Linked DNA regions of Homo sapiens: region 2 is linked to region 1. The links are contacts of gene promoters, found by promoter capture Hi-C in blood cells and fetal thymus (Javierre and others, 2016). All regions are on one chromosome and are shown on one strand. Each heading gives the region's core, a stretch centred on a gene start or on the middle of the fragment in contact. The rest is flanking DNA. Distances are from core to core; before and after follow the strand shown.

The links. Contacts are between HindIII fragments. The CHiCAGO score rates a contact against its expected background, and 5 or more counts as called.
Region 2: a contact is called between a fragment that was not itself captured here and the fragment with the promoter of IRF3 in region 1, in 1 of 17 cell types (non-activated CD4 T cells). The highest score is 5.4, in non-activated CD4 T cells.

The regions. Positions count from the first base shown.
Region 1 is chr19:49,663,159-49,668,282 of GRCh38, forward strand. It overlaps IRF3 (interferon regulatory factor 3), which reads right to left and starts at 2,699. Exons shown (of 8, transcript NM_001571.6): 1 at 2,473-2,699; 2 at 1,516-1,688; 3 at 185-356; 4 at 30-100. The coding sequence starts at 1,680. It overlaps BCL2L12 (BCL2 like 12), which reads left to right and starts at 2,775. Exons shown (of 7, transcript NM_138639.2): 1 at 2,775-2,909; 2 at 3,527-3,641; 3 at 3,861-4,003. The coding sequence starts at 3,535. RefSeq lists silencers at 2,678-2,827, 2,868-2,947. The HindIII fragment of the contact is 30,887 bases long and covers 1-5,124 here.
Region 2 is chr19:48,988,422-48,993,680 of GRCh38, forward strand. GYS1 (glycogen synthase 1) reads right to left here and starts at 4,888. Exons shown (of 16, transcript NM_002103.5): 1 at 4,574-4,888; 2 at 2,881-3,062. The coding sequence starts at 4,691. It also overlaps a transcript of RUVBL2 not described here. RefSeq lists silencers at 31-213, 4,795-5,154 and enhancers at 1,344-1,735, 4,445-4,584. The HindIII fragment of the contact is 1,579 bases long and covers 3,221-4,799 here.

The DNA.
Region 1 (5,124 bases), core at 1,449-3,948:
AGGGGCATGAAAGTTGGGCACATTCTCACCTGGGTATCAGAAGTACTGCCTCCACCATTGGTGTCCGGAGAGGTGTCTGGCTGGGAAAAGTCCCCAACTCCTGTTGAGAAAAGTGGTGAGGGGAGTAGGAGTGCCAGGAACCCTTGGGGCCCCAGCCTCCCACACGAACCCCAAGCTGGCAGACCTGAGTTCACAAACTCGTAGATTTTATGTGGGTCGTGAGGGTCCTTGCTCCGGTCCTCTGCTAAACGCAACCCTTCTTTGCGGTTGAGGGCAGAGCGGAAATTCCTCTTCCAGGTTGGCAGGTCTGGCTTATCCCTCCCGGGAACATATGCACCAGTGGCCTCGGCCCAGGCCTGGGGCAACAGTGGTGTCAGGATGGTGGGGGAGGACGACTTAGATCCTGCTCCTGGGGCCCTAACCCTGTCTCCCGAGTCCTAACACCACCCTCTTTCCCTGGCAAGTTCTAACTCTGCAAGGTCCATCCCCAAATCCCCCCGTCCCACCTACCTCCATCCCCCACCTCTAGTTTTCAAAAGGCTTTTTTTCTTTTTGAGATGGAGTTTCACTCCTGTCACCCAGGCTGGAATGCAATGGTGCAATCTCAGCTCACTGCAACTTCCGCCTCCCCGGTTCAAGCGATTCTCCTGTCTCAGCCTCCTGAGTAGCTGGGATTACAGGTGGGCACCACTACACCTGGCTAATTTTTGTATTTTTAGTAGAGATGGGGTTTCACCATGTTGGCCAGGCTGGTCTTGAACTCCTGACCTCAGGTGATCCGTCCTCCTCGGCCTCCCAAAGTGCTGGGATTACAGGCATGAGCTACTGTGCTCGGCCTCTTCAAAAGCCTTTGAAACCTCTTTGGTTTTTGTTTTGTTTCGCTTTTGTTTTTAAAGAGATGGAGCCTATGTTGCCCAAGCTGGCCTCAAACTCCTGGGCTCAAGCGATCCTCCCGCCTTGGCCTTGCAAAGTGCTAGGATTACAGGTGTGAACCACCGCCCCCGGCCCAAAAACCTTTTCTTTCTAAGCCAGGCTTCCAAGTCCAACTTGGTGTCTAATCCCGTGCACCACCTGCCCCGCGACACCCTCTGTGATAACCCCGCCCCTCACACTGTTTACCACCTCTGGCATATACTAATTCGGTAGTTAGGAACCTCAGATTTGGGGCTCCAGGCCTCACCTCTGATGTTTCAAGAACCATCCCCCAGTATCTATCCTACAACCAAGAGCCCCGGCCTCTAGAAAGCCCCAAACCCCCAGGATGCATTTCCTTTGCGTACTAACCGGCTTTCCCGGTTTTATTCCCGTAACCCTGCAGCTCCAACCCTGCTTGCGCCCCACCATCAGTCAGCGGATCCGGCTAGCCCCGCCCCTCCCGTTCTAGCCCCACCCACCAGCGTTGGCACGAGCCCGCCCCTCGCGCGCCACCTCCGCCTTCTCAGCCGGGCCCACTAGGAGTCCTTTCCGCCCAGCGCGCAGCTCCGGGTTTCCAGCGTCCCAGGTCGTCGCACGCACCTGGAAGATTCCGAAATCCTCCTGCTGTGCATCCTGCCGTAGGCCGTGCTTCCAAGGGATGCGGAAGCGCGTGCGGCTCTTGTTCACCCAGGCCACGCCCTCCAGTTGCCCCAGGTCCAGCTGCGACACCAGCCAGGGCAGGATCCGTGGCTTTGGGGTTCCCATGGTCCGGCCTGCGCGTATAGGGCATTTCCTGGGCGCGACCGGCCTCCCCCGGACCCACCTGGCCTGGAGTTTCCGCACCCAGACCTCCTTCTCACGGGCCACGGCACAGGTCCTTCACCCATATTTTCGGGGGTACAAACAGGAAACCTCCTCTTCCCATCCTCCCATCCTCCCGAGAGGCTCTCTAATCAGCTAGGGTTCCTTCCCATATCCATGGCACATCCTTCCCCAGCGTCTTCAGTGCAGACCCTCCACTCCCTCAATTCCGCCAGTATAGACCTCCTCCCTCCCCCACATCATCGAAAGTAAGTATCCCCACTTTCAGGGTAGCATCCTCTTTCCCTAGTTATTTCAGTGCAGAATCGATTCACGTGTAAGCCTCTACCTCCTGCACTTACCCCAATGTAGACCCCCTTCCACAGTCCCCCTACAGAAGATCTCCCAAAACATTTCCAACACAGAACTTCCATTCAATTCCCCTCCGACTGCCCGCCTCCCTCCTCCAGGACAGAGCACGCCCCAGGTTTCGAGACTGAACTACCCCCATCTACGGAGTCCACCCCTCCCTCTCTAGAACCCCCTCAGTGTAGACGCCTCCTCTTTTCCTCTTTCCTCCCTACTTTTTCTAGTTTTTCTGCAGCCGACCTCCAGCGTCGGCCACTGTAGCTCCTTCCTTGCTCCACTTTCCCCAGAGTACACAGCCTGCCTTTCCACTCTCCGTGCAGACCCATCCTCTTTCCCGCTCCTCGCTCTCGGACGCCACCAACGCTCTCCCGGGCTCTTCCGCGTTACCTACGATGGAAGGTCGGGGCGTGCGGGCAGCTGGAACCCACCCCTGTCTTGGAGCTCCGGGTAGCTCTCAAACTCGAGGCTGCGCACCCCCTTTCCCGTCAGCTGAGCTCTAGAGCGCTGGGGCTTTCTTTTTGATCGACTTCTTGAAATAAAACCAACTTTATCATTCTTTGGGTAACAGACCCAAAAGCCGATGGGACGGCCCGCTGGGCTGTTCCCGCCCCTATGCCCTTTTTTGGGTTTCCGGCCAGAGGCATGCTGGGAGCGTCACATGCAAATTGAGCGTGCACCCAGCGTTCCGCCCTTTCTACGCTGGGCCGGTTATCGACCCGGCCCAGTGCGCAGGCGCGGGAAAGTTGAACTAATAAAGTTTGTACGAGTTCAGTGGAGGAGACCGCAAGTTGAGTGGAGGAGGCGGCGGTGGGGCCCCGGACCAGGTCAGCGGGGTGTTGACGAGGGGTGGGGTGAGGAGGGAAGAGGAGGGGGCCGGGATCCAGTGGTGGGCACCCCAGTCCCGCTTCTCTGATATCCAAGGGTCCAGGGTCCTCTAGATTCCAGCAGGGGTCGGAGATTTGGAACTACACCTCACAGCAGGCTGCGCGGCGAAGAAGCGCGGACCTAGGGGAAGATTTGCCCTGAAACCTCTTGGGATTGGTAGTTCCCGATGCTTTAAGGGTTTCAGGAGTTTGGCATATGCCTCTTATAGAATCCAGGAGTTGGGGCGCTAAGCCTCTTCTTCCTGGGAGACCTAAGGGTCTGGGGCTCCAGTTCCTTTTTCTCTAAGACTCAGAAGTCCAGGACCCCAGCTCCCTCCTCCTTTAGACCCACGAATCTGGGCACCCAGCCCCACCACCTTTCCTTGGATCGAAGAGTCTTTTTCCTGATCGCTTTTTCGTCTGAGGACTCAAGAGTCTAGGCCCCCAGACCCACACTCTCCAAAGGACCCAGGAGTCCAGGCCCTCAGCACCTTCCTTGGGACTCACAAGTCCTGGTCCCCAAGCCTCCACTTCTTGCTAAACCCTTGGAGTCCAGTCCCTAACCCTCTCTCTCACAGGTGCCTCCATGGCAGGCTCTGAAGAGCTGGGGCTCCGGGAAGACACGCTGAGGGTCCTAGCTGCCTTCCTTAGGCGTGGTGAGGCTGCCGGGTCTCCTGTTCCAACTCCACCTAGGTAAGAGGAGTGGCCCTTCTCCCCCAGGGGCCAGCATTTGAGGCTCCCTCCTAACTCTTGCTCCTGGTCTCAGTCTGTCTCCTCTCTTTATATCTGGCTCTATTCTCTGTCTTTGGGGTTTTGGAGAGAGGTCCTCAGCGGGGGAGGGAGGGAGTTGGGGAAAGAGACTGCTTGCAGGGGATCTCTGGTGGGGTCAGTCTCTGAAGTCCTCCTCTCCAGAAGCCCTGCCCAAGAAGAGCCAACAGACTTCCTGAGCCGCCTTCGAAGATGTCTTCCCTGCTCCCTGGGGCGAGGAGCAGCCCCCTCTGAGTCCCCTCGGCCTTGCTCTCTGCCCATCCGCCCCTGCTATGGTTTAGAGCCTGGTAAGAGATTTCCATGATCATCTATGAAGCCGGCAGAACACGGGATAAGGTGCTAGTTTAAGATCACTCAGCTAGGGGGTGGCTGTGTGGAGTCTCTAGCACCAGCCTTCAGGACAGAACCGTCCTGTCCTCTCCCCTCCCCAGTTAGATTTCTGTCAATTCTGTGGGTTGGCTTTCAGAGAGCATTTGGTCAATCTGGTTGTTGTCTCTTTCCTTCCATAACTACTTCCCTGCCCCTAGGACTTTTGTAGCCAGGAATACCCCTGATAGAGGGGCAGAAGGGCTGGTTTTCAATCACATCTCCCTGGCTGTTTTAGTTGCGTGACTCTGGGGAAAATGCTTTCTCTTCCCTGCTCCCCTGTTTTTCCAATAGCAGAGTAGGAATTGGGGAGGAGGTCACTGGACTTGATCAAGGTGACCCACAAGTTTCCTCATAGGTGTGAACCTGGACAGACTAGTAATGGCTGCTGGGAGTGCTAGCTTGAAAAGGGGTTCACAGCTTGGGAGAGGAAGTGCTGTGATCAATTGGTGATGTCTGTAGTGAGTGAGGGAAGGGGATACTAACAGTAATGTCTTGTGTTTGCCTTCCTTGGATGAGATCATCTTCAAGGTCTAGTTGAGCTCTGACAGTCTTTTGGAGACAGATTGTTGCTCTGTCACCCAGGCTGGAGTGCAGGGGTGCAATCTCGACTCACTGCAATCCCCACCTCCTGGGTTCAAGCGATTCTCGTGCCTCAGCCTCCCGAGTGACTGGGATTACAGGTGCACGCCAGCATACTAGCTGATTTTTATACTTTTAGTAGACACGGGGTTTCGCCACGTTGGCCAGGCTGGCCTCAAACTCCTGGCCTCAAGTGACCCTCCCACGTCGGCCTCCCAAAATGTTGAGATTGCAGACGTGAGCCACCGCACCCTGTCAGCTCTGACATTCTTTTTTTTTTTTTTTTTTTTGAGACGGAGTTTCGCCCTTGTTGCCCAGGCTGGAGTGCAATGGCCCGATCTCGGCTCACCACAACCTCTACCTCCCGGGTTCAAGTAATTCTCCTGCCTCAGCCTCCCAAGTAGCTGGGATTATAGGCATGCGCCACCATGCCCGGCTAATTTTTTTTGTATTTTTAGTA
Region 2 (5,259 bases), core at 2,760-5,259, 670 kb before region 1:
CTCCCTGGCTCAGTCAATCCTCCCACCTCACCTCCTACAGGCGTGGGCCACCATGCCAGGCTGATTTTTTAATTTTTTGTGGAGATGGGGTCTCACTATGTTGCCCAGGCTGATCGTGAACTCCTGCGTTCAAGCAGTTTTCTTGCTTAGCCTCCCAAAGTGTTGAGATTAGAAGTGTGAGCCACCTAAAGCAGGCCCTTTTTTATTTTCAGAGACGGGGTCTTGCTCTGTCCTCCAGCCTGGAAGGGAGTGGTGCAATTACGGTTCACTGAAGCTTCGATCTCCCAGGCTCAAGCAATCCTTCCACCGCAGCTTCCCACGTAGCTGGGACCACAGGCACAAGGTATCACATCCCGGCTAATTTTTAACTTTTTTGTAAGGACAGGGTTTCACCATGTTGCCCAGGCTGGTCTCAAACTCCTGGCCTCAGCCTACCAAAGTGCTGGGATTACAGGCGTGAGCTACTGCACCCAGCCTGTAATGATTCTCTTACTGTTCATGCTGCCACTTTTCTTCCCCATGATGCCTTGTTTCTGTTCCTTTCATCACATATCTGTCACCTGCGACCTCTTTCCTCTATCCATAGGCCCATTTTGTAGTCCACAGCCTCCTTCCTTCCTTCCTTGCTTCCTTCCTTCCTTCCTTCCCTCTCTCCCTCCTTCCCTCCCTCTCTCCTTTTTCTTTCTTTCTTCCATTTTTTTTTGTTTGTTTTTGTTTTTGACAGGGTCTCACTCCGGTCACCCAGGCTGGAGTGCAGTGGTGCAATCATGGCTCACTGGGCTGGGCGCGGTGGCTCACGCCTGTAATCCTAGCTCTTTGGGGGGCCGAGGCGGGCGGATTGCCTGAGCTCAGGAGTTTGAGACCAGCCTGGGCAACATGGTGAAACCCTGTCTCTACTAAAATACAAAAAATTAGCCGGGCGTGGCAGCATGTGCCTGAGGTCCCAGCTACTTGGGAGGCCGAGGCAGGAGAATTGCTTGAACGCGGGAGGCGGAGGTTGCAGTGAGTCGAGATTGTACCACTGCACTCCAGACTCAGCGACAGAGTGAGATTCTATCTGAAAAAAAAAAAAAAAAAATTATGGCTCACTACAGCCTCCACATCCCATCCTCCCACCTCAGCCTCCTGAGTAACTGGGATCACGAGCACGCACCATCATGCCTGGCTAATTTTTTGTATTTTTAGTAGAGACAGAGTTTCGCCATGTTGCCCAGGTGGGTCAGGAACTCCTGGGCTCAAGCTATCCTCTCACCTCGGCCTCCCAAAGTGCTGGGATTCCAGGCATGAGCCACCGCCCTCGGCCACGCCACACATTTCTAACATAGCCCATCCTCTGTCCGTGCCCCAGGGCTGCATTTTTCTAGCCACTGCCGTGTTTCTAAGACTTGCTGTCTCACTTCTGCCTCTGCCACATTTCTCCAGTTGGCTGTTTTCCTCCCTGAGACCATGGCTTTGGTTCTGGGCCTGCTGCCACAGCAGTGGAGAAGCAGCCCCGCTCCTCGCCGACCTGGCTTTTTGCTGCCTGGAGCCTCGCTCTGAGGTCCCTCCCCCTCCCAGCTGTTGTCTGCCCTTTTGCTGGGGGGGGGGGGGGGCTATTCTTAGGCCCCCAGCACGTGGGAAGCAGCTGCCCTCAGGAAGCGACTGGGCTGTTCTGGGTTCCCTTAGGGACACAGTCGGACCTGAATGGATTCCAGACCCCACCCCAAACCAGAGGCTGTGAATGAGTAAAGGAACCACAGTGCCTCTCCATCCCCAGCCTGGACCTGTCTGTCCCTTAGCCCTGCCGCCTGATGGCTTTCTCCTTGGACAACAGCGTGCCGCCTGATGGCTTTCTCCTTGGACAACAGCGTGTCTCTTTCCGTCTTCACCCTGGGGCCCTGGAACTCCCCCTCCTCTCTAATCCCTGATCTGCCCATCTCAGACTCTGTCCTGTGGGTCTGTCCACTGACCTCTCCTCTCTTCCCCGATATTCCATGCTTCTCTCTCCTTCTAGGACTGGCTTTCTGAAACATCTGGTGGCCTCTCTTCTGTCCCCAGTCTATTACTCTTGCCTGTGGCTCCATCCACCCTTCTCCCTTGGTCTGCCTGTCCCCCTCACTCTCCAAGCTTGGCTGTTAGTAACAATAATGACGATGATCATAACAATGACAATCACCGCCCACACAATGTGCTACCTTCATGCCAAGAACTCTACTAACCACTTTGTCCTTATTAACTGTTTCCTCCTCCCAGCACCGCTAGAAGGTAGACGCTATTAGCATGTCCATTAGCCAAGGACACACAGGCAGCAAGTGGAGGGTGAACTTGAACTTCAAGCTCCAGAATCCTGCTCCTTCCTGACCTCAGGCCCACTTCTCCCCAGCTCTGCCTGGCTGGCTGGCATTCTTTTCTGAGACAGAGTCTCGCTCCGTCGCCCAGGCTGGAGTGCAGTGGCCCAATCGCAGCTCACTGCAACCTCCGCCTCCCGGGTTCAAGCGATTCTCCTGCCTCAGCCTCCCGAGTAGCTGGGATTACAGGCACCCGCCACCACACCCAGCTAATTTTTGTATTTTTGGTAGAGACGGGGTTTCGCCATGTTGACCAGGCTGTCTTTCGATCTTGCTCTCTTTCTCTCTGGGTCTGAGGACCTTGGCCTCTTGGATCTCCGTCTCAGTCTGTCTCATACTTGCCATCTGTCTGTCCATTCGCCCATGTCTGGGATCCACCCACCCACTTCCAGGCCCTGCATCTGTCTGGGTGTCCTATCACGCCTCCTTCCTGTGTCCAAGCCTGCCTCGCTCTCTGGCTGGGGCTGTCCACCCTGCACCCTCTCCGTCTGTGGCTCCCACCCCGATGGCAGGCTGTCCACCCGCTTCTGCCCTGGGCTGGGCCACGTCCCACCTTGCAGCCCTTGCTGTTCATGGAATCCAGTGTCCTCTTCAGGGCCGGGGTGGGGGCCTCCAGCAGTTCCACCTGGGTCCTCACGCCCTGCTCCGTGTACGGCCCCACCAGGAAGTAGTTGTCGCCCCATTCGTCCCCTGTCACCTTCGCCTTCGTCTGCAGCACCGTGTAGATGCCACCCACTGTGGGCCCAAGCGTGTGAGGGCAGGCCCCGGCCGAGGTCCATAGTTCTGGGGCCTGGGGTGGGGTGGGCCGGGGATGTAGGGGGCACTCAGGCCCCAGACCTCTAGCTCAGGGGGAAGAGGGGACTGGGAGCCCATAGTTTGGAGTAGGGGTTGGAAGCTTGGATGAGGGGAACACGAGGGCTGGAGGGCAGTCCTCCTGGGTCTAAGGGAGAAGGGGGCTGGGGTCAGGACCCTGAAGGAGGAGGGGGCTCAGGCTAGACTTCTGGGTCTGAGAGAGAAGGGGCTGGGTGCCGGGACCCCTTGGTCTGAAGGAATTAGGCACTGGGGCTCTAAGGATGGCAGAGCTGAGGACTGACTACCCGGACTCAGGTTCCCGAGTTCCCAGCTCACAGGAGCTGGGTTTAAATCGCAGCCAGGCTCCAAAACCCAGTGAGGGAGACCCCCTCATGGCCAATCCAGCTTCTCACCATTGCCCAAGAGAAGCCTGCATGGTCATTCCCTGCCCCCAGGGACCTTGCTGACCTGCCTCCCAATTTCCTCTCCCTGACTAGGGACACCAGCATGCAGGGCTCTGCCTCTCCCATGACCCTATCCCAGACCCAGGAGCCCCAGCCCCCAGCCTCCTCCCATCCTGGAGCCCAGGCCCTGGCGATACCCGGCTGGGTGTTCACGGGCCCCCTCTCCTCCTGGGAGACACAGTCCCTTTCTCCTCCAAGACCCAGCAAAGCAACCCCCCAGACCCTGCTCTTTGAGGTGTGAGATTGGCTTGTTCCTGGGGATTTCAGCCCCAGCCTTCTCCAAGGCCAGAACCTCAGCTTTCTGAAGCCCAAGACACAGAAATGCAGGCTCCTAGCCCCTCCCATCCTAGGGCCCAGCCTCTGACTAACTTAGGACTTCCCAGCCTTCCCCTATTCCAGTACGCATGTGTCCCAGGCCATGGGCTCCTCTACTCCTAGGAACTAATAGCTCAGGCCCTCAGCTCCTTCAAAGCCCAGGCATTCATTACAGTCTCCAGCCCGTCCCATCTTTATTCTTAAGCAGCCAGATCCTCAGGTCCTCCCACCGCCGCTCAGGCCTCCTATCTCCCAGTCAGCTCTCTCTCAAATCTGGAGTTTTATCCCCTAGACCATGCTGTTAGGGTCATAGGTCTGAAACCCCGGCAGCTTCCCAGGTTTGCACGCAGAAATCCCATCCCCCCATCCCCTTCCCTGTTCAGGACCCAGGTATCTAGTCTCTCGGAAGCCTGCCTCCAGGACCTAGGAGTCTCATTTTAGCGCCCTCTTCCCTAGGACCCAGAACCCGGGCTTCCAGCCTCCTTTCATCTTAAGTCAAACGAACCATCCCTCTCCCACCCACCTCCGGCTTCCCAGCCCCTCCTCAAGGACACAGCCTCCTTGCCCAGGTCACAAGGGTTCCCCTAGTAGCCCCGTCCTCCTACAACTCAGAGTTCCGGGCCCCCATCCACTACTGTCCTTCTCGTCAAGGGCCCCGACGCCTGGCGTGCTCACCCTTGTTAGCCACCTCCCAGGCCACTTCGAAGAGCACTGCGTTCTCCAGGTCGAATTCATCCTCCCAGTCCTCCAGTCCTGGCAGTGAGGACATGGACAAAGTGCGGTTTAAAGGCATGGCTGGCGCAGGAAGGGGGGCTCCGGGGATCTCCAGGTAGGGACCCCGGAGGTGTCTAGGGAATGCACCAGGTAGGGTGCGGGGCCGAGTAGCTGGTGCCCGACGGGAAGCTTGCAAGACGCTCGGCTTCCTATTGCAAGACCGCACCCCTGCCCCGAAGCGTTGGGACCTAGGCAGAAGGAGGCCGCAGCGTCACTGAGCCCACTGGCGCCCCTGCAGTGAAACCTCGCAGCCGCCAGGAGGCGGTGGCCGCCCCCCCCAGCCAGCGCCATTGGCCCACGCCCGGGGGCGGGGATTTCCGCGTGTCCTCATTGGTGGAACGGGTTGGAGTCGCTGTGTCCCGGCCCCGCCTCGGCCGTGAGACCTCCAGGGGGCGGAGCTTGCCGCTGCGCTTTACGGAAACGAGTGGCCTTCAGCTCTGTCAATCTGGAGCTGGAGGCCTCAAAGTGGGGAGGAGGAGGAGGGTGGGATAAAGAGGAAAGGAGCGTGGAGGACGTGTGGTTACTCAAAGAACAGCTAAGAATTTTGCAATCGGCCTGAGCGGGGCGGTGGTGGGGCTGAGCAAAAG